7 separate regions of the Homo sapiens genome follow, and regions 1, 2, 3, 4, 5 and 6 are each linked to region 7. The links are contacts of gene promoters, found by promoter capture Hi-C in blood cells and fetal thymus (Javierre and others, 2016). All regions are on one chromosome and are shown on one strand. The core of a region is centred on a gene start or on the middle of the fragment in contact, and the rest is flanking DNA. Distances in the headings are between cores, read along the strand shown.

Region 1 (3,536 bases), core at 491-2,990, 660 kb before region 7:
TCTTTTCTTTGTGCTAGGAACATTCAAATTGTTCTCTTCTGGCTATTTTGACATGTACTATTGATAAATGTTAGCTGTAGTCACCCTACTGATCTATGGAACACCGGGTCTTATTTCTTCTAAGTGTATGTTTCTTCTAAGTGTATGTTTACCTCCCCTTGCTCCCCCATGGCCCACCCCCCCAATACTTCTCAGTCTCTGAGATCCACTTTCTGAACTCCCACATATGAGTGAGAACATGCATTATTTGCCTTTCTGTGCTTGGCTTATTTCACTCATCATAATGACCTCCAGTTCTATCCATGTTTGTTGCAAATAAAAGGATTTTGTGGAGGGTTTTATGGCTGAATAATATTCTATTGTGTATATGTACCCCATTTTCTTTATCCATTCATCTGTTGCGCGGACACTTAGGTCAATTCTAAATCTTGGCTATTGTAAATAGTGCTGCAATAAACATAGAAGTGCAGATATCTCTTTGATATATGTATTTCCTTTCTGTTGGATCTATACCCAATAGTAGAATTGCTGAATCATATAGTAGTTCTATTTTTAGTTTTTTGAAGAATCTTCAAACAGTTTTTCACAGTGGCTCTAGTAATATTCATTCCTGCCAACAGTGCACACGGGTTCCCCTTTCTCCACATTCTCACCAGTATCTTTTGTTCCTGGCTTTTTTTTTTTTTTTTTTTTTTTGATAAAAGCCATTCTCACTGGGGTGAGATATCTCATTGTTTTGATTTGCATTTATCTGATGATTAGTGATAAGGAGCATTTTTTCATATACCAGTTGGCCATTTGTATGTCTTCTTTTGAGAAATGCCTGTTCAGATCTTCTGCCCATTTTTTAATTGGATTATTTGTTTTTGTTTTTGTTTTTGTTTTTGCTTTCCTATTGAGTTGTTTGAGCTCCTTATATAAAATATTCTGGTTATTAATCCCTTGTTAAATAAATAGTTTGCAAATATTTTCTCCCATTCTGTGGGTTGTCTCTTCACTTGATTGTTTCCTTTGCTATGCAGAAGCTTTTAAGCTTGATGTTATCCCATTTGTCTATTTTCACTTTTGTTGCCTATGTGTTTCAGATCTTAACCAAAAAGATAAGATCTTGCCCAGACTTATGTCATGGAGACTTTTCCCTATGCTTTCTTCTAGAAGTTTCATAGTTTTGGGTCTTAAATTTAAGCCTTTAATCCATTTTGACTTGACTTTTCTATATGGTGAGAGATAAGGTTCTAATTTCATTTTTCTGCGTGTGGACATTAGTTTTTGCCAACACTGTTGAACAGACTGTCCTTTCTCCATTGTGTGTTCTTGGCACCTTTTGTAAAAAAAGCAATTGACCATAGATGTGTGGCTTTATTTCTGGCCTCTATATTCTGTTCCATTAGTTAATGTGTCTGTTTTTATGCCACTACCATGCTGTTTCGATTGCTATAGCTTTGTAATATATTTTGAAGTGACGTATTGTGATGACTTCAGCTTTATTCTTTTTGCTCAACATTGTTTTCTCTATCCAGGATTTTCTGTGGTTCCATACAAATTTTAGGATTTTTTTTTCTATTTCTGGGAAGAACATCATTGATATATTGTTAGAGACTGCATTGAATATGTAGATTGCTTTGGGTAGGTATGGACATTTTAACTATTCCTCCAATCCATAAACACAGAATATCTTTCCATTTTTTGCATCTTCTCTAATTTCTTTCATCAAGGTTTTATAGTTTGAGTGTACAGATCTTTCACCTCCTTGGTTAAATTTATTCCTAAGTATTTTATTTTATGGGTTGTTTTTGTAGTCATTGTAAGTGGAATTGTTTTCTTGATGTCTTTTTCAAATAGTGTGCTTTCTGTGTATAGAAATGCTACTGATTTTTGTATGTTGATTTTACATCCTGCAAACTTACTAAATTTATTATAACAGTTTTTTTTAGTAAAGTCTTTAGGTTTTTCTATATATATAAGGTCATATCATCTGCAAACAAGGACCGTTTAACTTCTATACAATTTAGATGCCTTATTTTTTTCTTACCTAACTGCTCTAGCTAGGATTGCCAGTACTATGTTGAATAGAAGTGAGAAAGCGGGCATCCTTGTCTTGTTCTGGTTCTTAGAGGAAAAGCATTCAACTTTTGTCTATTCAGTGTATTAGCTGTTGGGGACTTGTCATATATGGCCTTTATTGTACTGAAGTACATTCCTTTTATACCTAATTCATTGAGCTTTTATCAGAGAAAAATAACGAATTGTGTCAAATGTTTTTCTGTATCTATTGAAATGATCAATGTGGTTTTTGTCCTTCATTCTGTTAAAGTGATGTATCACATTTATTAATTTGCTTTATGTTGAATCATTCTTGCATGTCTGCTATGAATCCTTCTTGACCATCGTTAGTGATCTCTTTTGTTGAAGATTTTTGCATTTATATTCATCAGGGATACTGGCCTATAAGCTTTGTTTTTTTGTTGTGTCCTTGCCTGATTTTGCTATCAGGGTAATGCCTGCCCCATAGAATGACCTTGGCAGTATTTCCCCCTCTTCAGTTTTTTGGAAGAGTTTGAGAAGAATTGCAATTTGTTATTTAAATGTTTGGTAGAAGTAAAGCCATCATGTCCTGGGCTTTTCTTTAATAGGAGACCTTTTATACTAATTCAATCTGCCACTTGTTACTGATTTGTTCACATTTTCTATAGCTTCATGATTCAGTATTGGTAGGTTGTATGTGTCCAGAAATTTATCCATTTCTTCTGGGTTACCAAATTTGTTGGCATATCATTGTTCCTAATAGTTTCTTATGATCTTTATATTCCTCTGGTATCAGTTGTAATGTCTCCTTTTTTATCTCTGATTTTGTTTATTTGGGTCATTTCTCATTTTTTCTTAGTCTGGCTAATGGTTTGTCGATTTTACTTATCTTTTCAAAAAATCTAATATGATATTTTGAATGAAATCCTGGAACAGAAAAAGGACGTTAGTAGAAAAACTAGTGAAATTAGAATGAAGAGTAGAATTTATTTAATAATAACACACCAGTGCTGATTTCTTAGTTGTAATAAACATACTATTGTAACATGAGCTCTTAACAATAAGGGGAAACTAGATGAGTGATGTATGGAACTCTCTGTATTGTCATTGCAATTCTTCTGTAAATGTCAGTCTATTCACTGCAACTTTTCTGTAAATCTAAATCTATTGTAAAATTAAAACTGGATTAAAAAATAATATAATAAGTAAATAAGACTGATCTGTTTATGGTTGCTGGTGAGACTTCATTGATTTGATAAGCATCAACTCAATGCTCAAATTCAGTCTAACAGTGGTTTCTTAATCCTAGATAACTTCTAAATAAGTTTTTATTTAAGTATAAAGTATATTCAGAAAAGAATGCAAAAGATGAGTGTACATACCCTTGTATTCACCATTCAGACAAAAAAGTAGATAATCACCAGTACTCAGAAACCTCCCAGATTCTCTCCTAAATCTCTTCTCCTTACTCCTGCCCAAAGGTAACCTGAATTCTAACACCAGAGATTAAT
Region 2 (3,325 bases), core at 561-3,060, 800 kb before region 7:
CTAGCTATTAAATGTCTTTTAAATCCTTTTTCCCAAGAAATGTGAGCTTTAATAACAGAGCTTTCAGATGTGGTAGAAAACATATGATTCCAATTTAGAAATGCAAAACTAAATTTATGAAATAACCTCGGGAGTAAATAATCTTTCTTCAGCAGAGATTCATCCTACAACTCTGTTGTACAGAAAGGACATCAACTTCACCTCACAAAGTCCATCAATCAGCTTTGAAATGCAAATTTTGAGAGATAGCAGAGAGATCACATCACCTGTGGAAGATATCTGATCAATGCTATGAAATTTTTAATAAAAGCAGAAGTTTTTAATATATAAACATTCTTAAAGAACGTCTCTTTAATTAATATGTATATATATACACACATATATTAAATTCAAGGACAGCAGAATTGCTAGGGATAATGGAGAACACAATCCAATAGTCTTAATAACCATTGTATTTCAAAATTCTTGTTAGTAAATTTCAGACTCTTTCCTTAAGATATTTTCTACATAGCAAACGTGGAAGGGTCATAAAGGATGTTCATTGATGTAAAATTAAGCTTAAAGATACTTTGGCCTCAATTATCTAGATATTTTGAGCAAATGCCAGATGGTTTCCTCATTTTTCACTTCCTTTGCAAGAAACAAACAGCCTATGTCTTCTCTCAGGAAAAACTTTGCTCCCATTATATCACTGACAAATTTCAAAAGTATAAAATGACTTAGAGATGAATCATCTCTAAGAGACCGGAGATTTGAATAGTTTCCCTTAAAGATGGACATCTTAGTGGTTTCCAAAAAAATATATGTATATTCTGGCACTTTGAAACCCAGGCTAGCAGTTTGTGACCCTTCTCAAGCAGAACTTTTGTGTCTGTACTAGTCTAGCCCTGCGACACTTCTGTAAGTTCCTCAGCATTGTGTATGCCCCGCATTGTCATCTAGCATAGCCCTAAGATTTTGCTCCTACCTTCCAACTTCTTTGAAATGCTCAGGCTCCCATGGGCAGGCTGGCCCTGACTCACTTTGGCTGCACTTCCTCAGCCCATTCTCATAGCAGGGTTTCTATGATAATAGCAGAAAATAAGGAAGAAAAAAGAGCATCCAAGGCACACGCTCTGGTTGGGTTTACCTGTCACTAAGATCATTCTCTGAAATATGAAAAATTTAATCAGTGTATATTTATTTAGCTAACATATCACATAAAACATTTAATTTGACTATATTTTAATTATGACATTTGCTAATTTGACTAAACTAAAAAAATCAAATGGCTAGGATCAAATGACAAATGATCCTAATAGCCACTTACTTTCAGGAATAAAAAAACTAAAAAAAAAAAAAAAAAATTTATGAAAATGACAACTCCAGGCTGATATCCTCCAAGTTTTAAGGGATTCATAAGAGATAATTCCCTACATTTTATCATAGATTTTTTAATAATTTGTATTGTTTAATGTTATATTACGATATCGATTATCTTGATTACTGAATTTCTTGGTTCCCCTGTTAAATTTTGTACCCAAGGCAAGTGCCTCACTCTCTTTTTCTTGAATCTGAATTTGGTTTCCAGGGCACCATTTCTCCTTTCTTCTCCAATCTCACTGTTTACTCCTTCTCAGTCTCCTTTGCTAGTTCCTCACCTCCTCCAGCCTCTAAATATTCAGATCTCAGCTCTAGGGCATCTTCTCCATCTATACTCATCCTCTAGATGATCTCATCCAGGCCATGGTTTTAAATATCACACATGCCCTGACGACTCTCTAGTTTTTATCTCCAGCTCAAACCACTCCCCTGAACTGCCTGCTTGGCATAGCCATTTTAAAATTTAACATGACCAAAATGCACTCCTGATTTTAGCCCTTAAACTTTCTTCCCCTACAGTTTCCACATCTCAATAAGGAGCAATTCCATCCTTGCAGTTGCTCAGGCTAAAAACTTTGGAGTTATACCTATATACCTGCTAACTCTTATTTTACATATGATCCATCAGCAATTCCCATTGACTCTCACTTCAAAATACATGCAGAATTCGACCACTTGTCACCACCATTCTAGCCCAAGTCACCATCACTTCTTGCTCAGACTATTATAGTAATCTGCAACTGATTTATTCGCTTCTTTCTTTTGTTTCTCTATAGTTTATTTTTAACAAAGCAGCCAGAGTGATCATTTTTAAATGAAAATCTGATTATGGGTTTTTTGCTCAAAACCCTCCAATATAACCCCATTCCACACAGAATAAAATCCAAAATCTTTACAATAGCCTACAACACTCGTTCTCAAACTTTCTAGAGGCTTATTAAAACAGATTTCTAGACTCCACCCAGATGCTCTGATTAAAGAAAGCCTGGATGGGGCCCAACATTTGCATTTCTAACAAGTTTCCAGGTTGTGTTGATGCTGTGGGTCTGGGGACCACACTCTGAGAACCACTGGCCTACAATGCCCTGTATGATCTGGCTCCTGTTACTTCTTTGAGCTCATCCTCTGTTACTTCTCTTCTTCCTCTCTGCTCCAATCACACTGTCCTTCTTAGCCTCCAAGCAACCTTCTACTTCAGGATCTTCATATTTTTCCCTTTATCTGGAGCATTCTACCCTTAGATATTCTCATGACCACTCCCTTCTTCAGGTCTCCAATTAAATACTCTTTTAATAAGACCTTCCCTGAGCACATCATATAAAATACCAAACTCACTACACCTCTACTTTACATTGCTTTATTTTTCTTCATAGAACTTATAACCATCTGTTCTTTATACATTTATTTGGTTGTTTGTTTATTGTCCGTTCCCACTGACTTTAAATTCCATGCGGACAAAGACTTTCCATACTTAATTCAGGGTTAACTATAGAGCTTAAAATGATGCCTGGCACATAGGTGCTCAATAAGTATTTGTGAAGGAAAGAATGGATGGATGGATGAATGGATGGCTGATGGGGAAAATTGGGCATGCACTCCAGACCACTCCCCTTTCTGTTTCCAGGCTCTTTGGGGAAAGGGAATAATCCAATTTATCATGCTAACCTAAGCAAGTTACTTATACACTGCACCCACAGCTTGTAAGCTTTAATTGTAAAAATCATCTTAATTTGTTTTTAAAAAGAAAAAACAAAATTGACAATAACTCAATGACCAGTACAAGGAGGCTTCCAGAGGCCCTTGCTGTTTTACCCACAGTCCTGACCTGATGTGCATAGAGGCCCACTTAGGGTGGCTAAAAATAAAGTCCATCTCCTCTGTTGCCACCTGCTTCCTATAGCTGTAAGTCCCATCTGTTCCCATAGAGAATCATCTCTGAGCTTGATTTTCGTGAACTATTTTT
Region 3 (3,460 bases), core at 362-2,861, 760 kb before region 7:
TTCCTCCATCTCCCCCACCCCCTCCCAGGAATATCACGAAGTCACCAGGATAGCAGGTTTTTCAGCAACATTTAACTATTTACTGAAATACCTCTAATGCTGACCCTAGTAAAAACAACTTAATTTCAATTCAGGAAATTTCATTAAGAATACATGCTAATAAATGGTACCTCTGTAACTGCAAGAATGTGAAGGAAGAAAAAACGTACGTGAATCTGAGGTCTCACATTTTTCATTTGTAGTAGGTGCTATCCATGGTGTGGAGAAATTTTTATAGAAGAACAGCACCCAGGCTAGAGAATGAGACCTGCTTGAGACATATCACTTCTTTTTCATGTATCTTCTGCCACATATTTTCATCCAAATGTTTATTTGTTTCTAAGACAGCTAAAGAAAGGAGTCTATTTTAAAGAAATTTAGACATACATTAAACTTTCCTTGTTTAACACATTCAGTCAACTAAAACTATGAGAGGTCATGTTTGGGGAGAAGACATTTGTTTATACTTAATATCACTTCCTAAAACACAAAAACCCCTTTCTAAGGTTTCCTAGACTTTAAAAGATAGGAGTGGTATACTGTATTGATTTCAGTTAGGAAAAAGGAAGGCAATTTGAATAGGGGCCAGTGGAATACAAATATGTCAATATTCTCTTGAATATAGTGTAAAGTAACTGAGATTACCTGGTTTTAAATAAAGAGCATATGAAAAATGGAAAACTTTTCCTCTTAGATCAAAAACAAGACTAAAGTGCCCACTCTCACCACTTTCATTCAATATAGTATTGTAAGTTTTAGCCAGAGCATTTAAGCAAGAAAAAGAAGTAAAAGGATTCAAATTGGAAAGGAAGAAATAAAATTGTCTCTGTTTGCATGTGGCATGATCTTACATATAGAAAACCCCAAAGACTACATCAAAAAACTTTTAGAACTAATACATGAATTCAATAAAGTTATAGAATATAAACCAACATACAAAAAATCAGTAGCATTTCTATACACTAACAAAAAATAATCTGAGAAAGAAATGAAGAAATCAATCCCATTTATAATAGCAACCAAAAAATAAAATATTTAGGAATAAACTTAATCAAGGAGGTGAAAGATGTACAGTGAAAACTATAAAACATTGATGAAAGAAATTGAAGACACAAATAAATTGAAATATATCCTGTGTTCATGGATTGGAAGAATTGATATTTGTTAAAATGTCCATATGACCCCAAATGATTGACAGATTCAATGCAATCCCTATCAAAATTCCAATGATATTTTTCAAAGAAATAGAAAAAAAAATTCTAAAATTCGTATGGAACCACAAAAGAGCCTGAATAGCTAAAGTAATCTTGAGCAGAAACAACAAAGCTAGAGGCATCACACTACCTGATTTCAAAGTATGTTGCTAAGCTTAAGTAATCAAAACAGTATAGTACTGGCATAAAAACAGACACATAGACCAATAGAACAGAATGGAGAGCCTATATGTAAATCCATGCATTTACAGTCAATTGATCTTTCACAAAGGTGCCAAGAACACACAATGGGGAAAGGATAGTCTCTTCAATAAATTATGTTGGGACAACTGTATATCCACCCATAGAAAAATGAAATTGGACCTGTATCTCACGATATATACAAACATCAACTCAAAATGGATTAAAGAATTAAATGTAAGACCTGAAACTGTAAAACTACTAGAAGAACAAATAGTGTGAAAGTTCCTTGACATTGGTCTGGAGAATGATTTTTTTGGATTTGACCATAACACTCAGGCAGGAAAGCAAAAACAGGCAAATGGGATTGCATCAAACTTAAAAAGCTTTCCACAGCAAAGGAAACAATCAACAGAGTCAACAGAAAATATCGGCAAACCATACCTCTGATAAAGGGTTAATATCCAAATTATATACGAAACTCAATTCAGTAGCAAGAAAACAGCCTATTTTTTTAATGGTCAGAGGACCTGAATAGACATTTCTCAAAAGAAGACATATAAATGGTCAACATGTGTATGAAAAAAAGCTCAACATCATTAATCATCAGAGAAAATGCAAATTAAAGCCACAAGGAGATACCACCTCACACCTGTTAGAATGGTTACTATAAAAAAGAGAAAAAATAAGTTTTGGAGAGGATGTGAAGAAACGAGAACCCTTGTCCATTATTGGTGGGAAATTAAATTAGTACAGCTATTATGGGAAACAGTATGGAGTCTCTTCAAAAAACTAAAGAAATAGAACTACCCTATGATCCAGCAATTCCACTTCTAGATATATATTCAAAGGAAATAAAATCAGTATGTCAAAGAGATAATTGCACTCCCATGTTCATTGTTGCATTATTTACAACAGCCAAGATATGGAATCAATCTAAGTGTCCATCAATGGATCAATGGATAAAGGAATAACACACACACACACACACACACACACACACACACACGAATACTACAAAGCCTTAAAAAAGAAGAAAATCCTGTCATTTGTGACAACATGGGTGAATGTAGAGAACATTATGTTAAATGACATAAGCAAAGCACCAAAAGACAGTACTACATGATCTCACATACATGGGGAATCTAAAAAAGTTGAACACATAGAACAGAGAGTAAAATGGTAATTGCTAGGGGCTGGAGGTAGGGGTGGGGAAATGTTGGTTAAAGGGTAGAGTTTCAGTTAGAAAGGGTGACTAAGTTACAGAGATCTATTGTTTATCATGATGAATACAGTTAATAACAATGTATTGTATTCTTGAAAATTTCTAATAGATTAGATCTTAAATATACTCACCTCAATAAACAACTATATGAAGTGATGGAATATATATATTTATATTTTATTTTATTTTTATTTATTTTTGAGATGGAGTCTCACTCTGTCGCCCAGGCTGGAGTGCAGTGGCGCGATCTCAGCTCACTACAAGCTCGGCCTCCTGGGTTCACGCCATTCTCCTGCCTCAGCCTCCTGAGTAGCTGGGACTACAGGCGCCCACTACCACGCCTGGCTAATTTTTTTTTGTATTTTTAGTAGATAGGGGTTTCACCGTGTTAGCAAAGATGGTCTCAATCTCCTGACCTCGTGATACGCCCACCTTGGCCTCCCGATGGATGATATATTAGCTTGATGTAATCATATCATAAAATATACATATATCAAAATGTTATATACCATAAATGTACACAGTTTTTATTTGTTAATTATACCTTAATAAAGCTAGGGGAAAAATAAAAACAGAGCATGAACTGACTTCCACATAATTTCTCTTCTTCTTCTCTGTGCTATAGATAGTCAACCTAAGTTAGTTCTATTTTCCACTTCTTATTTAAAATAAAGCTAACCAGAGGTCATTAATTTCTTTTTCTTGGAAGCTCCCTACATAGCATTCATATTTTAAAAAAAAAAACTTTTCACCTGAAAATGTTAGTTAGAAATTAAAATTTTTGGTCAGGCACAGTGGCTCA
Region 4 (3,199 bases), core at 127-2,626, 860 kb after region 7:
AAAAGAAAGAAAGAAAAAAAGAAAATGCACCAAGTTGGAAAATGAGATTGGCGAATACAAGTAAGGGTTTCATATAGTTTCTCTAAATATTCTGGTTAATTTTCCAGATATTGGAAACCGTGGTCTAATATATAACCTTGAACGGCCGCTGGGAAATAAGTGCTTCTTGAATTGTGCACCACTGTATTTGCAGACATAAATTTTAAGCTTTAAAGAATATAATTATTTTAAAATATAATTGCTAGCTGGAAAGAGGTCTGATTCTGTGCATTCTGAGGATGGGAGCAGGTGGGTGCCTGCCGCTCCAGGTGCCTGCGCTTTCACACTTTTCTTTTCCAGAAATCGAGCGGAGGACGCTGTGTGTGCATAAATTTCAGCAACGCTGAATACAGGCACTCAACTGAGGCGTTCTAACTCTGGAGATGAACACTGGATTGGAAACTCGGGTTGAAAAACACTTTGATTCTTAAATCGGTTCCCGAATTTCAGACCAAACTCGGGGTCACTTGGCATGGAGGTGGGGGAGGAGGGCGGCTTTTAAATATAAACCCTAAGGCCCCACCTTGATTTAGGAATAGGAAATCCCTGTCCGAATCGGGAATTGGCATTCCGTAAGGGAGCGGAGGGCCTCAGGCCACTAGGCAGCTCCGAACGCGGGGAAGCGGGAGCAAAGATGAGCTCAGAGCGAGGGTTGCCGGCGCCACCCTGGGCTGCGCAGTGAGGGGCCGTGGACCCGCCCCGAGACTCAGTGACAGTCGCAGCTTAACCCCGTTGGGGGCGCCGCCCCGCTGAGGTGGTTGCGTCTCCAAGTCGTGAGCCTCCAATAGCTGCTCCCGCTTTCGCGTCGCAACCCCAGGACCCCGGGAAATTACCACTGTGCTCGTCTGGGCCGGAGACCCGGTGCTTCGGAAGCCTGGGGCACATGCCTGGGTCCCACCCTAGACTCACCGCCTCTGGGCCCGAGACATGGGAATCTGCCCTTGAATATCTGGGCGCCTTTGCTGTTAGCGCGGTTTTGGAACTTGAGCGTGCATGGGAATTGATTGGAAGGCTGCTTAAAACACAGATTGCTGGGCCTCACTTCCAGAGTTTATGATTCAGTAGATCTGGGGTGGAACCCAATAGTTTATTTGCATTTCTAACAGGTTCCCAGGTGATGTTGCTGGTGAGGGAACCGCACTTTAAGAACCATTGCCTTAGTCTGCTTTTTCTCAGCCTGCTTCTGAAGTAGAAGACTGTGAGGAGGGAAAATATTCGAAGCGATGTCCCTAGTATTGTGGGATCTTGAACATACAGCATAAAATGATAGGGCGGTCTAGTTGAGGCCCAGGAGTGAGGCTGTCCTCTGTGATAAGGATGGGGTCTCTGAAGATGGCTTATTCCTGCCTCCTTAGGAAAGTGGTTAGTGTCAAAAAAGGGAGAGGAAGCCGGGGCAAACTTCCGTGGGGAGTTTGGCTTCAGAAGAGCAGGGAAATACACAGGGTGCTCTCACAATGTTTCAGTGTTCCAGGGTTCTCAGCTATGTTGCTGGAAATAAGTCCAGAGACTTTGGTTCAGTCAACCAGGGGTGGGACACACTGGAAATATAGCAGACAAGCATTGGTTCTCCTTTTGGCCTCAAACCTGTTCCCTCATTTTTCAAGACCACTTAGGCATAAAGGGTTCAAGGTGTGTGTGTGTGTGATGTTGGTGCAGGGGGAGTGGTCGCTAGAGGAGGGGGCCCTGCCTGGATGCATTGGGCCAGGGTGGTCTAGGCCTCCCCTCAAGTGGCAAGGGCTTCCTCTTGTGCAGGGTCAACGTTATGACACAGCTTTGTTGATCCTTAAGCACTTTTGTAATGTTTTTATGGCTCCATCCTGCATAAGAAAATATTTTAAAATTATATTTTGCAACTGCATTGGTAAACAGATGAGTGTAATTCAGATTGGTTTCATTATCATATATTCATTATTCTTACATTTTTTTTTCTTCTGATGGTAAAAGAAATAAACAGTGAAACATTTTTCTCAGGCCGTAAAACTACATGGGCCCTAGGCACTGTGACTATTGTGTGAAATGGATAAGTCAGTGCTGCTCCTAGGTACACCTGGGATGATATGGATGCTGGGCATGCCTTTTCCCAGCAGTGGTTCCTAAGCCCCTTTCAGATGAGAGAGGTTTGGGATGACAATCTCTATCCATGAGTCACAGCTCCATTTCTGGAATGAAGCTGTTCATCTCCTCAGGGCTCCCACTGCAGAGTCCCTCCACCCTAAAACCGAGTGGAAAATCCAGACCGATTAGACTACCAGCACCATTTCTTATCTTAACACCTGGCCTGCTTCACTTATTTTCCTTACCTAGAAATCCAGATTATTAAGTGAAATCCAATTTTAAAACACTATGCAAACCAAGCAAGTGGATCTTGGGCTACCAATTTATGTCTCCAGCTATACAACTACGTAGCTTCTTATTACTCTTCTGGAGTTTCAAGCAAACATTAAGATTTATATTACACACACCGTTCTGCACCTTGATTTTTTTTCACTTTTCATGACAGTATACAGAAAGCTTCTTCATCCTTTCTTTCCTAAACATCTGTATAGCATTCCAGAAAATACCAGTATAAATTATTTAACCTTTCACCCACTGAGGACATTTAGGTTTGTTTCCCATTATTGCTTCACAAACAATGCTGCAGTGGATAACTGTACACATGTCATTTACCTGTGTACAAGTACACCCACGGGACAAATTCCCAACAATGGAGTTGCTATATTGAAGGATACATGGATTTGCACTCCTGATAAACATTGCTAAATTGCCCTCCATGACAGTTTTGCCAATTGACACTCTCATCAGCAATGTGTGAGGGTGACTGTTTCCCTACAATCTTCGAATGAAGCACATTATTAACTTTTTTCCCAGTCTACTAGATGAAAATTGATTTTTAATTTTTTTCTGTTATTAGGGAGGTTTGGCATATTTTCATATGCCTAAGTGCTGCTTGCATTTTTCTACTGGAAACTGTCAACCCAAATGATTTGAGGGTGGGGGCCCTCTTGGCTCTGAGGTGGGTAAATCCTTGGGTAGGAGGTTGAGGTGGGGTCTGGTTTTAAATACAGTTGAACCATTCTTGAATCCCTGGGGTGAGCTCACTGGTCAACACTGGGAAGTCGAGACAATGACAAACACAGGTTCAAGGTTCTGGAGTAATCTA
Region 5 (3,501 bases), core at 189-2,688, 850 kb after region 7:
CCTCAGTCCAGGCAGAGACAAGAGGAGTCAGACCCTGCTTTCAAGGAGCAGGAAGTCCAACAGGAGCAACTGGCCTGAAGACAGATATAGTGACCACATAGCTGAACAGGTAGTGCTGAATAGGCAGGGGGCCCAGAGCCTGAGTGACCGGAGGCCTGGGGGACAATCAGGCCTTAGGGGAGCTGATGTTTGAGCAGAACCTTGAACAGGAAGCTTGGACTGGAGAAGAGAGAAAGAGCATTCTAGGCAGAAGGAATGAAGTGGCCAAGTCTGCTGGGTCTGGGGATAGGACCAATCTAGTGTATTCTGAGGTGATGAATTTGGTGTACTAGAGACTGCAGAGGAGCTAAACCTGCAATAGATTTTGGAGCTTGAAATGTCAATTTGAGAAACCTGGAGTTGCTCTGTAAGCACTAGAGTTCTAACAGGTTTCTAAGCAGGAGAATAGCATGCTTAGATGTGGCATTTGTTTAATTTTATTTTGTTTTGCAGAATGCAGACAGTGATCTGAGGAGGAAGGGGAGGGGAAGAGGAGATCAGAGAAGGCAGCTGCAGCAGAGATGGTCAAGCCTGAAATGGGGTAGTCACAAGGGGAATATAGAAAGGGGAGAATCTAATTCAAAGATGGTTCTGGATATGGACTTCACTGGTAGCAGAGAGAGGTTTACTTCAGTGTTTCAGTGAAGGCACTAAGCAGAAGGTGACATCATTAACCAAGATTTAGTGTGATTTTGTATGAGTAGAATTCTGGGGGAGGGAGATAATGCCTCCTTGTTTTGGAGATGCTAAACTTCAAGTGTATGCAGATTTCCATTTAGATGTGTCCAGTTTGCAGTAGGAAACAAAAATCTGGAGCTCAGACGGAGAGTCTAGACTAGAGAAACCAGTTGGTTTCATGTAGAGAAAGGAGTTGAGAGGCTGGTGTTGGGTGAGATTACCTGGGTGGCCTTGAAGCTGTAACAGGAGAAACAGAGCTGAAACCTAGGGGACATTACAGCATTTGCAGGCCAACCAGTGGTGGGGAAATCAAAAGGGAGCAGGCAGAGAGAGAGAAGAATCTGGGAAATAGTGCTATTTTAGAAACTGAGGGAAGGAGAGAATGTTAAATCATCAGTGTCACCTCCTTCAAGTCTTAGTCCAAATGTCACCTTCTCAGTGCGGCCCTCTCCAACCATCTCTTATTTTAAAAGGCACTACTCTTTCTTCCTCTCCTCCTTATTTTTCTCCATGGCACCTATACCACCTGGTAAACTATACACTGTACCAGTGTGGGCTTGTAAAGCTGCTCTCCTTAGAATGCAAACTCCATGAGAGCAGGGCTTTCCATCTGGCATGCGATTGCCCCTCCTAAATTTGCGGAATGAGTGAGCTTCATTAGGATAAGAGATGAGCATCTAATTCTTGCTATCAAAATGTGGTGAAGCCAGTGAAGAGCATGATGGGTGGGAGAGATGCCAGACTGCAGGGATGAGGGAGTAAATGGGGAGAGGGTGGGCCATTGAAATTGGGAATGTAAGTCAGTCCTACCAGAAATGTGGCATGAAGAAGAGGAAATAAATTGGCAAGAGCTGGAAAGTGTCAGGGACAGTTTGGATTTTGTTTTCTTGTTTATGTTTCTGAGGAAAATTAGTTGGGAATATGAAAATATTGGGGGAAGGACACAGGGAAATCTGATAGAAGATGTCTTAGAGTTAAGTGCCTTTCTAGATAAATTCAAAGGTGTGAAGGCCACGTCAGTGAGAGAATGCTTGCCCAACCCCTTCCTTTGTCCCACAAAACTAAAATCTTCTTGGTGTCTTGGAAGGAGAAAGGTATAGGGTAGTGGTAGGAAAAGGAGCTCCTGTCAAGAGATGCCACTCATGCCAGCCCACAGGGAGAACTTGCTTAGATTCCCCAAATGCTGCTTAGGTTCAAGGCTTCCAGGAGAGTAGCTCCCAGTGGGCTTGAATAATAATAATAATGATGATGTTGCAGGGTTGGGACAAGCGCAAAATCTAAAAATGCCACCGGGGTTTTGCAATTTAAAATATTTGTTCTGTGACTTAAGTAGGCAAAGAGCAAGTTAAAACTGTGAGCACTACAAACCACAAGGTAATGGGAGCCTAGCATTGGTTAAACTCATTATCTGGGGGTGTGTATGTGCTTAAGCAAGGTCCTGCACACAGCCTGGGCTGGCTTGCAGTGAAAGGCAATAGGAAGAGAAGAGGGAGCCTGGGCACTACAGGGACACAAAACCAGTTGCAGATGTAGCTGAATTGGAAAGACGTGGGCTTAAAGCACTGACAGGTCTTTTTACCAGATTCCTGTTATTTCCTTTGGAAATCCTTCATTTGGGATGGTTCTGTGGCCTTGCCTCTTCTGCCTGATCTGGGGTGTTCCAGTTCCCTCAGCCCAATGGAGACAAATGGTGCCCCCTCCCTTGGTTAGGGGCCTCGTTGGGCTACATTCCAAACCCAACTTCTCACTTGTCACCTTGCCTCCCTCTCAGCCTCTTGAGGCATCATCTGCAAAAGCTAAAATTTTACTTTGCAGCAGCTATTGGGCTCTGAGAGGGCCACGTGCAGTCCGGATCCCTGTTTTTGTGGGGGGGGTTGTTTGTTTTTTTTTTGTTTTTGTTTTCTGAGAAACTAAAAGCTCAACTCAGGGCCAGGCACTCAGACCCTCAAAGCTTATGTGTTGCCGGAAGACCTGCACCTGTACCTGGAGCAGATGGGAGCCCAGTTCTCGGCCAACGTTGTCCAGGGGGCTGGTCCGACTTGAGTGGCCCCACGCCTCGCCGAGCCCTGTGGAGACACAGAAGCATCCTGTAGCCACTGAACCCGGACCTGACAGGCAGTTTGGGACCAAGTCCCGCGACTGTATTACCCGAGTGCCGGCCCCTTTGACTGGATACCATAGGGGATCCCTCTCAAAGTGGACAGCGGGGGATGGGAGCGTGTACATTTCAGTCCGTCCTGTCAGCTTCTCAGCAGAGGTTAGATTTCCTCTTCTAAACTAAAACTGGTTTCTCAGGCCAAGGGCCCCCTGGTAGGACTCCAAGTGGCCCAGGCTCGGAAAAAGCCTCCAACATTGCACCCCACCGATAACTTTCATGTAGGTTCACCAGTGTGTTTACGGGGCGTAAGGGCACTCTGCTTCTCGCCCAAAGTTTTCATCGTCATCCGTTTCCCGAGGCCGAGCTTGTCCTAACACCAAGCGAAAGCCACTGCCAGCCCGCAGCGACCTGAGACGACCGGCCAGGTCCAACCGGTCCTTGGCGGGCTTTCTGATTGGCTGCGGGGCTTCTAGCCACTCTCCTCCCCTTGGCTTCTGGCTTTAATCGCCTTCGGAAAAATTAGTTCCCTGGCGGATGATTTCCAGCCTGACGTTTACCAGCATCCCTGTTCAACCCATCTTCCTATTCATTTCCCCTCCTAGCCCTCTGCCTTACACACAGCTCATGCCCCCTACCCACCCCCCTACCACCAAAACCCGCATAGGCTTTTTCTGAAGTCAGTTACT
Region 6 (3,426 bases), core at 733-3,232, 830 kb after region 7:
AGATCATGTCATGCCCGTGTGCAGAATTCTCCAATGGCTTCCCAAAACCTTCAAGATCCAAGGCGATCTGGCCCTGCCTATTCTTCTAGCATCATCTCCTTCCATTCTTCCCCCTCCCTTACTCAGTGGCCACCACAGTGACCTTCTCTGTTCCTCAACATGCCAAGCAGGTTTCCACCTCAGGGCCTTTGCATTCACTTCCCTCCATCGGGAATACTCTCCCTGTAGGACTCCACATGGCTGGCTCCCTTCCTTCATTTATGAATCTTTAGAGAAACCTTTCTGACCATCCCTACCTCTTTGTCCTGCTTAATTTTTCTCCTATCACTTTCTGATATTATATGACTTTTTTATTTCTTTATAAGTACTTTATAAGTATATTAAAATTTATACTCAAATTAGCCAGGTGTGGTGGCACATGCATGCCATCCCAGCTACTCCGGAGGCTGAGGCTGTGGGAGGATCTTTTGAGCCTGGGAGGTCGAGGTGCGGTGAACCATGATCTTGCCACTGCACTGCAGCCTGGGCAACAGATTAAGACCCACCCCCCCACCCACACACACACACACACACACACACATATAATGTATATTTTTTACATATACATATATATTTAAAAACTTACATTTCATGAGGGTAGGGACTTTGTCTCTTTCAGCCACACTGTAGCCCTACCAGGGCCTGGCACACAGTAGGCACTAGGGAAATATTTGCTGAGTGAATGCATGAACCATCCCCAGCTTGTCATAGAGATGACTACACTCTAAAACATTTCTTACCGTTACCTTAATTACAACAACAGAGATTAAGCTGATTCTAATGATAGAAATTTGTTTGTAATGAAGGTCCTATTGAGTCAACCAAGAAGAGACACAAATAGAAAAGAGATTATTCTGTAAAGTGCCATGTAACGTCTGTAAATATTTTCTTCCTGGTTTTCAATTAGCCTTCACAATAAAATGCTATCCTGCACGTTGCTATTTCTTTAACTGCTCTAATTGGAGGAATGAAATTGACACCCACTCTGCCCTCCCCTTTGTGGGCTTCATTCTTCTAGCATTCCTGAGCTGTAACCCTGCAAGGGTCCATTACCCAAATCCAACACAACAAATACTTCACTACGCCAGGACTGTGGTAAGATTTCAACAGTGAATATAAATGCTGTGCCTTCCAACACTATTAGTCTCTTAACGGCCTATCAAAATTAAAATGAAAAACTCTGTGTTGCATTTGGCTTGATCTGATAACAAGCAGCTCTTTGCCTGTCGCTTGTTTGGACACCAATATCAATTAATGGGAGGTACTGAAACAAGTGAAGCTCCTGGTTCAGTCACAAGAACACGTTATAGTCATTACAAGCACGAGAGTAAAATGAATGGCTGAAGAGCAGCCGCAAACCTGTAAGAATGCTCAGAACCAGGGATTCTACCTTTGTTAACGGTTTTCAGTAGGAAGAGGTGAGAGACAGCACATTCTAAGATCGCATTTTACCAGAGAATGTTGCTATTCTTGGAGAGATGTAAAAAGTGGCAAGGGACTTGGGTTTAAAAGCACAAACACAGAGAGAATCCCACCTTAATGGGTACCATTATGATATCCAGTTCAATATAATGAGGCTATTTCTACAATCTACCCATCAGCCCATATTAGCACGCTTTACTGATGCGGATACAACAAATTCTGTTTGAACAAGAAATCCCTGGAGCGGGGGTGGGGGAAGGATCCATTCACAGGCCCTATCCATTTAGCAATCAATCAAAGAAAAAATATTCTTCTAGTAAAGACAGCAGCTCCCATTTGAATCCTCGTAAAATATTAAATGTTCTAAATAAAATAATTTTCTGTGGGTGACACGTTGATTGTTGTTTTGTGAAAACATCATGACTGTTGATGCTAAAATTAGTGAAGAAGAGATGGGCTCAGGATATCGACTGGCAATTGAGCAGGTCCCAAGTATACCCAAACTCTGAAGAAACTGAGTCACTTTGTGGAGACCCCATATTAAAAAAGAGAGTAAACTGTCCATAGACCATGCAAAATATTGGCAAAATGTCATAAATGACTATGTAAGTATTAGGTGGAATCATATGAAATTGCCAATATTGAACTGTTTTAATGTATAGAAGTGACAATTTCATATGGTTCACCCTAAAACAGCATTATCCACTTAAAGAAAGCATGCCAAAGAGGAAAGCAGGTGGATGCTGGAGTCCAGACCCTGGGTTGGTATGCTCGCTGGACCACTCACTAGCTATGTTGTATTGGCTGAGTCACTTAGCTTCTCTGGCCTCTCACACAAAGCAGCCGCCCTTCAGATGTGAGTCTGTCTTACTCCTCAGCCTTCCTAAGCATGCAATGAACAAAACAATGTGCCACGCCTCTTTCAGCTTAGAGCTAACAACCACCTCCCAGTCTCTCCCAGACAGAGGAACAATACCTGAGAATTACCTCTTATAAAAGAAAAAAGAAGCAAAAAAAATTATAAACATCCAAAATAATTGACAACATATTTCAAAATGTAATACATCTGCAAAGACTATTTTGAATCTAGAATTCTTTAATTTAAAAATTCACTGAGATTCATAATCCTATCAGAACTCAAACCCCAAAATTTTGAAAAATCCCATCTGCAGCAGGACAAAACATCATTCCAACAGGACAAAAATCAACACAACTGCTCCCTCTCCCTGAGGCAATGAGATAAACAGGGCCCACCCTGGGTAACGTCCTTGAGAGAGTTAAAGTTGAACTCCTTAATCTGTAGCCAGTTACCTTGCTGCCAGTCATGAACTCCCTTACCATACACATCACACACACACACACAGACACACACACACCCCTCCCAAGGTGCCCAACTCCTCCCACTGTCTCTCCTCCCTACCTACTATCTAGCCAGAAAGCAGTCTAACCACACCTGTGAGCTCATTTTTCAGGAGTGACCCAAACAGTGCCAAGGTGCTTTAGGCCCTCTTCCTTCTAATTGTGAGTGGACGTACTTTCCTCCATAAAGGCATCTCAGTTACCAGCAAGCCCACAGGGAAATCAGGCTAGGATACAGCTTGGACATATGCTTATTTCTTTTCCCTACAGACACTGTCTTACTCATTTTGATGTCCTCTGAACTGTGCACAGTGCTTGGCACATAATAGGTGTTCAATAAGCCTTTTATGAATGCTTAAAGGCCACTAGTCCTAACCAATTGAAGGAGGATCTTTCCAGATGCATCAAGATAATTGCTGATTTCTTGTTCTTGGGCCACCATCTGCTTCCTAAGACTCATGCTTTCCCTCCATTGGTCCAAAGACTCACACACATTTATTTTGTGTTCATTGGCAAGACAAAAATTATTTTATTCAATTTCACTAAAATAACCACTGTAATAATTCACATGTACTCAGTGTTACTTTGTGTTGGGCACAGGGCCAC
Region 7 (3,178 bases), core at 1-2,500:
ACCACTCAGGCCTCTCTTGGAAGAACTGCATCGGGCTCCGGTGCTGGCTGCATAGGATTTGGGGAGCTGTGCTCAGAACTAGCAGCACGCGGCAGGTGCCGGCAGAAATCACAAATATCTGATGAACTTGATTACTTGGCTACTATTTATGAAAATAAATGTTCTCACGCCAATTGGAGGCTTCCCTAAAAGAAAACGGGTAGCTCTCCGGTTTAACTCTGAAGTACAACGTCTTGTTAGTTCACAAAGTAGGTGTAAGAAAGAGTTGTCCCAAACGCCCACCTCGCCCCTCTTCTCTACAACCTTTAACAGATTGCGGTGATTTTCGTTTTTGTTTACTGTTTTTTTTTTAATAGAAAAGTCCAGGTTGCTGGTTTTAGGGAAGTTAGTCCAAGGACATCTTCTAGGGGACGTGATCAATAACCCACTGGTAGAACTTCTTCCTCTTCAACCCTGGGCTGCGGACCGGGGCGCAGGATCCCCATTCGAAACTGTTGGTTCTGGGGCTGTTTCCCATTCTCCAGAGAAAGTGCAGGCCCGGGGTGTGCCCGAGAAAAGTGATGAGCAGTTGACCTCCCCTTCTCAACTTGGTCTGGAGGCTTCATCATATTTTCGGACGAAATGGGACAGAAGTGAGAATTAAAGCGGTTCTGAATAGACGACTGGCCTGAACCCAATCCCCTGAAATGGTAATATGGTTGTTATTTAAAAAGTGTAGGTATTTTCTGGTGTTTTCCCATCAAGTACCTGCCTAATTTCTGTATGGCACACGCCAGAAATCAATAGTAGTTAACAAGTCCTCCAAACAGTCTCCATCTCTTTGTTTAATCTCCTTTACAATAAAGCCAAGGGGAGAGAATTAAAAATCTTTGAAGTAGATCAAGGCTCAAAGGAATCAGCCAAGTAGACTTAAAGTAGTCACTTATTTCCCAAAACTGGTTTGTCGGGGAACAATAAAAGGAAGTAAAATTTATGGAGAAATTATACAGTGGATTTGTCACTTAAAATATCGTAACTGTCTGGAGGACAATACCCCATGCTGAGGATTAATGGTCCCGCCGGACCTTTGATTCACCAGTGCCTTTTCTTCGCCCTTGACAAATTGGATTTTTAGGAATGGGAAGGTCGCCTGGACCATTGTGTGCTAGCCATTCAGCGGCCTCGATTATGCAGGGGGCTGAGGGAACCACTCCATGTGACCCTCTCGGGTGGGACTCTGCAGCTGCTTCGCAGCGCAACTCTCTCACCAAACTCCGCGCCCTTGCGCTAGCGGTGCCAAAAGGCTCCCGCCCCGATTGAAAAGGCGCAGTGCATGCCCGCCCGCGTCACTCCGCGGGCGGAGGACGCACGTCGGGGCGCGGCTCTCTGGCTAGCGCGCAGCTCCAGCTCTGTCACTCGCGCCCTTCCAAGGACCTGGAGCACCCGAGCGCCTGCCTGGTGGCGGCGGCAACAATGCACGGAGCCGCCAGAGCGCCAGCCACCAGCGTGAGTGCCGACTGCTGCATCCCGGCCGGCTTGCGCCTCGGACCGGTGCCTGGTACCTTCAAGCTGGGCAAGTACCTGTCAGACCGCAGGGAGCCCGGGCCTAAGAAAAAGGTATTGACCATTCAGACCTCTGCCCACTGCCATTCGCCTCTCAGTGCCCTGACCCGGGAAAGGGGTACGAGAGAAAGTGGAGGAAGGGAGTGATTGAGTCGTTACCTGCTAATTCTGCCGGGTGGAAGGGGACTCCTATTATTCTGAGCAAGTAGCCTCTTTAACTGTGAGAGCTGGACGGGGTCGGGCTGAGAGGAGAGGATGTGGCCGAGAGGCGACAGCCCTGGGTGGGGTGCACTGAGCGCTGTAGGTGCCGGGACCATTCGCAGCTTGTGTTTTCCCCTGCGCTCTCGGGTCTCCTCAGTCAGAAGCCAGAAGCCCACCCCCGCACGCTGTCCGCAGCTCTCTCTGCAAAAGCACCCTCTTTCTGGGGGCTCAGGGCATCGAGACCCTTTCTTCCCTTCTGCCCTTCAATATGTTAATTTGAGGCCTAATTTCGCCTTAAAGTAATTTTTTTTCCTGAAAAAAAAAATCTTTGGGAGGCTCTCAGTTCCTAGAACCTCCTCAGATATTTTTTTTTCCCTTGCCGATGTCGGCTTGTGGGTATGCGGCATATGGAGAGAGGATGAGCAAGGTACTGGCTCTGACGCGGGCTCCAAGGGCGAGGCGCGCCCATTCGCGCGGGGCACAGGGTCAGAGCGTCTGCAGCGGGGCTCTGAGAGTCCAGAGGCCCAACCGGGAGGCGCCAGGGCCAAACCACTAGCTTTGACTCCCACACTCCACACACCGTCGCGACCCCTGACCAGAGAGACTTATAGCACTCGCCCGCTTTGGGGGCGTCCCAGGAGCCAAAGGTCGGCAAACAGCGACCGGGAAATGAAGGCAGAAGTCTGGGGTAGAAGAAAGGACTTTGGCTTCCTTGGCTTTAGCTTGCCTTGCTTGGAGCTTTCTAGTAAAAAGCTCCGGTGTCCAGCCAGCGGGACTTGCACCTCGCTCCTCCTGCAATCACGCCCCCCACTACAGTCTAAAGCGGGGTTTGGTGCCCACCGCGCATTCCTCTTTAAACGCGTTTTAATTGCTTTTAAATGGCCTGCCAGCTGCGGGCAAGCTTTTCCCCGCTTGGGCTTTGTTCCGAGACTTTAGCTGCAGGGCTCACAGGCAACTAGGTGCGATGCACACAGAATACAGGAGGCATGAGATAATTTTTTTGTTTGTTTGTCGGGGGTACGCTCTGGGCCCTGGGACTGACCTAGAAATGTCTCTACCGTGGTGTTACGGCTGCTCTCAGAACTGCAAATGGGAGAGCTGGGGTAGGGGACAACTTGGTACAAGATGTGCCTAAGCACTCAGGGAGGATGCTCTCAACACCCCTCTCCCCTCCCCGTGTCGTCAAGGTGGGGCGCAGGGAAGTGGGAGTACTGTTAGCATAGGTAGACTTTCCTCTTTCTCCCTCCCCGAAGCAAGGTCCTAAGGAATTCTCCTCCTCCCAGTAGCCCATAGTGGTCTGGCCAAACCAAAAACAACCACTTTCCTGTGTTGGGTTGGGGTGGAGGATAAACTTTCTGTTTGGGTTGTGGGCCTGGCCAAGGTGCGGGGGAGAACGACCACTGCTTGTGTTGCAGGTGCGCATGGTGAGAGGGGA

What was found. The method cuts DNA at HindIII sites, captures the fragments that hold promoters and counts their contacts. A CHiCAGO score of 5 or more calls a contact.
Region 1: a fragment that was not itself captured here is called in contact with the fragment with the promoter of PRDM13 in region 7 in 1 of 17 cell types (total B cells); the score reaches 5.2 in total B cells.
Region 2: a fragment that was not itself captured here is called in contact with the fragment with the promoter of PRDM13 in region 7 in 1 of 17 cell types (total B cells); the score reaches 5.5 in total B cells.
Region 3: a fragment that was not itself captured here is called in contact with the fragment with the promoter of PRDM13 in region 7 in 1 of 17 cell types (naive B cells); the score reaches 5.5 in naive B cells.
Region 4: a contact is called between a fragment that was not itself captured here and the fragment with the promoter of PRDM13 in region 7, in 3 of 17 cell types (total B cells, naive B cells and fetal thymus). The highest score is 17.7, in total B cells.
Region 5: a contact is called between a fragment that was not itself captured here and the fragment with the promoter of PRDM13 in region 7, in 3 of 17 cell types (total B cells, naive B cells and fetal thymus). The highest score is 13.5, in total B cells.
Region 6: a fragment that was not itself captured here is called in contact with the fragment with the promoter of PRDM13 in region 7 in 1 of 17 cell types (total B cells); the score reaches 5.3 in total B cells.

Annotation. Positions count from the first base shown.
Region 1 is chr6:98,949,186-98,952,721 of GRCh38, forward strand. No RefSeq gene overlaps it. Among named protein-coding and RNA genes, the nearest start is that of FBXL4, 3.0 kb to the left of the region's middle. The HindIII fragment of the contact is 1,419 bases long and covers 1,032-2,450 here.
Region 2 is chr6:98,808,017-98,811,341 of GRCh38, forward strand. No RefSeq gene overlaps it. Among named protein-coding and RNA genes, the nearest start is that of PNKY, 22 kb to the right of the region's middle. The HindIII fragment of the contact is 2,510 bases long and covers 556-3,065 here.
Region 3 is chr6:98,849,546-98,853,005 of GRCh38, forward strand. It overlaps LOC124901364 (a long non-coding RNA gene), which reads left to right. Exons shown (of 2, transcript XR_007059690.1): 2 at 29-720. Among named protein-coding and RNA genes, the nearest start is that of POU3F2, 17 kb to the left of the region's middle. The HindIII fragment of the contact is 412 bases long and covers 1,406-1,817 here.
Region 4 is chr6:100,468,740-100,471,938 of GRCh38, forward strand. No RefSeq gene overlaps it. Among named protein-coding and RNA genes, the nearest start is that of SIM1, 5.4 kb to the left of the region's middle. The HindIII fragment of the contact is 2,343 bases long and covers 206-2,548 here.
Region 5 is chr6:100,451,062-100,454,562 of GRCh38, forward strand. It overlaps SIM1 (SIM bHLH transcription factor 1), which reads right to left. Exons shown (of 12, transcript NM_005068.3): 3 at 2,701-2,783. Among named protein-coding and RNA genes, the nearest start is that of SIM1, 12 kb to the right of the region's middle. The HindIII fragment of the contact is 2,455 bases long and covers 212-2,666 here.
Region 6 is chr6:100,433,187-100,436,612 of GRCh38, forward strand. The region is part of intron 9 of SIM1 (SIM bHLH transcription factor 1); the gene reads right to left. The region is part of intron 2 of SIM1-AS1 (SIM1 antisense RNA 1); the gene reads left to right. Among named protein-coding and RNA genes, the nearest start is that of SIM1, 30 kb to the right of the region's middle. The HindIII fragment of the contact is 5,285 bases long and covers 1-3,426 here.
Region 7 is chr6:99,605,583-99,608,760 of GRCh38, forward strand. PRDM13 (PR/SET domain 13) reads left to right here and starts at 1,251. Exons shown (of 4, transcript NM_021620.4): 1 at 1,251-1,596; 2 at 3,159-3,178. The coding sequence starts at 1,453. The HindIII fragment of the contact is 6,161 bases long and covers 1-2,642 here.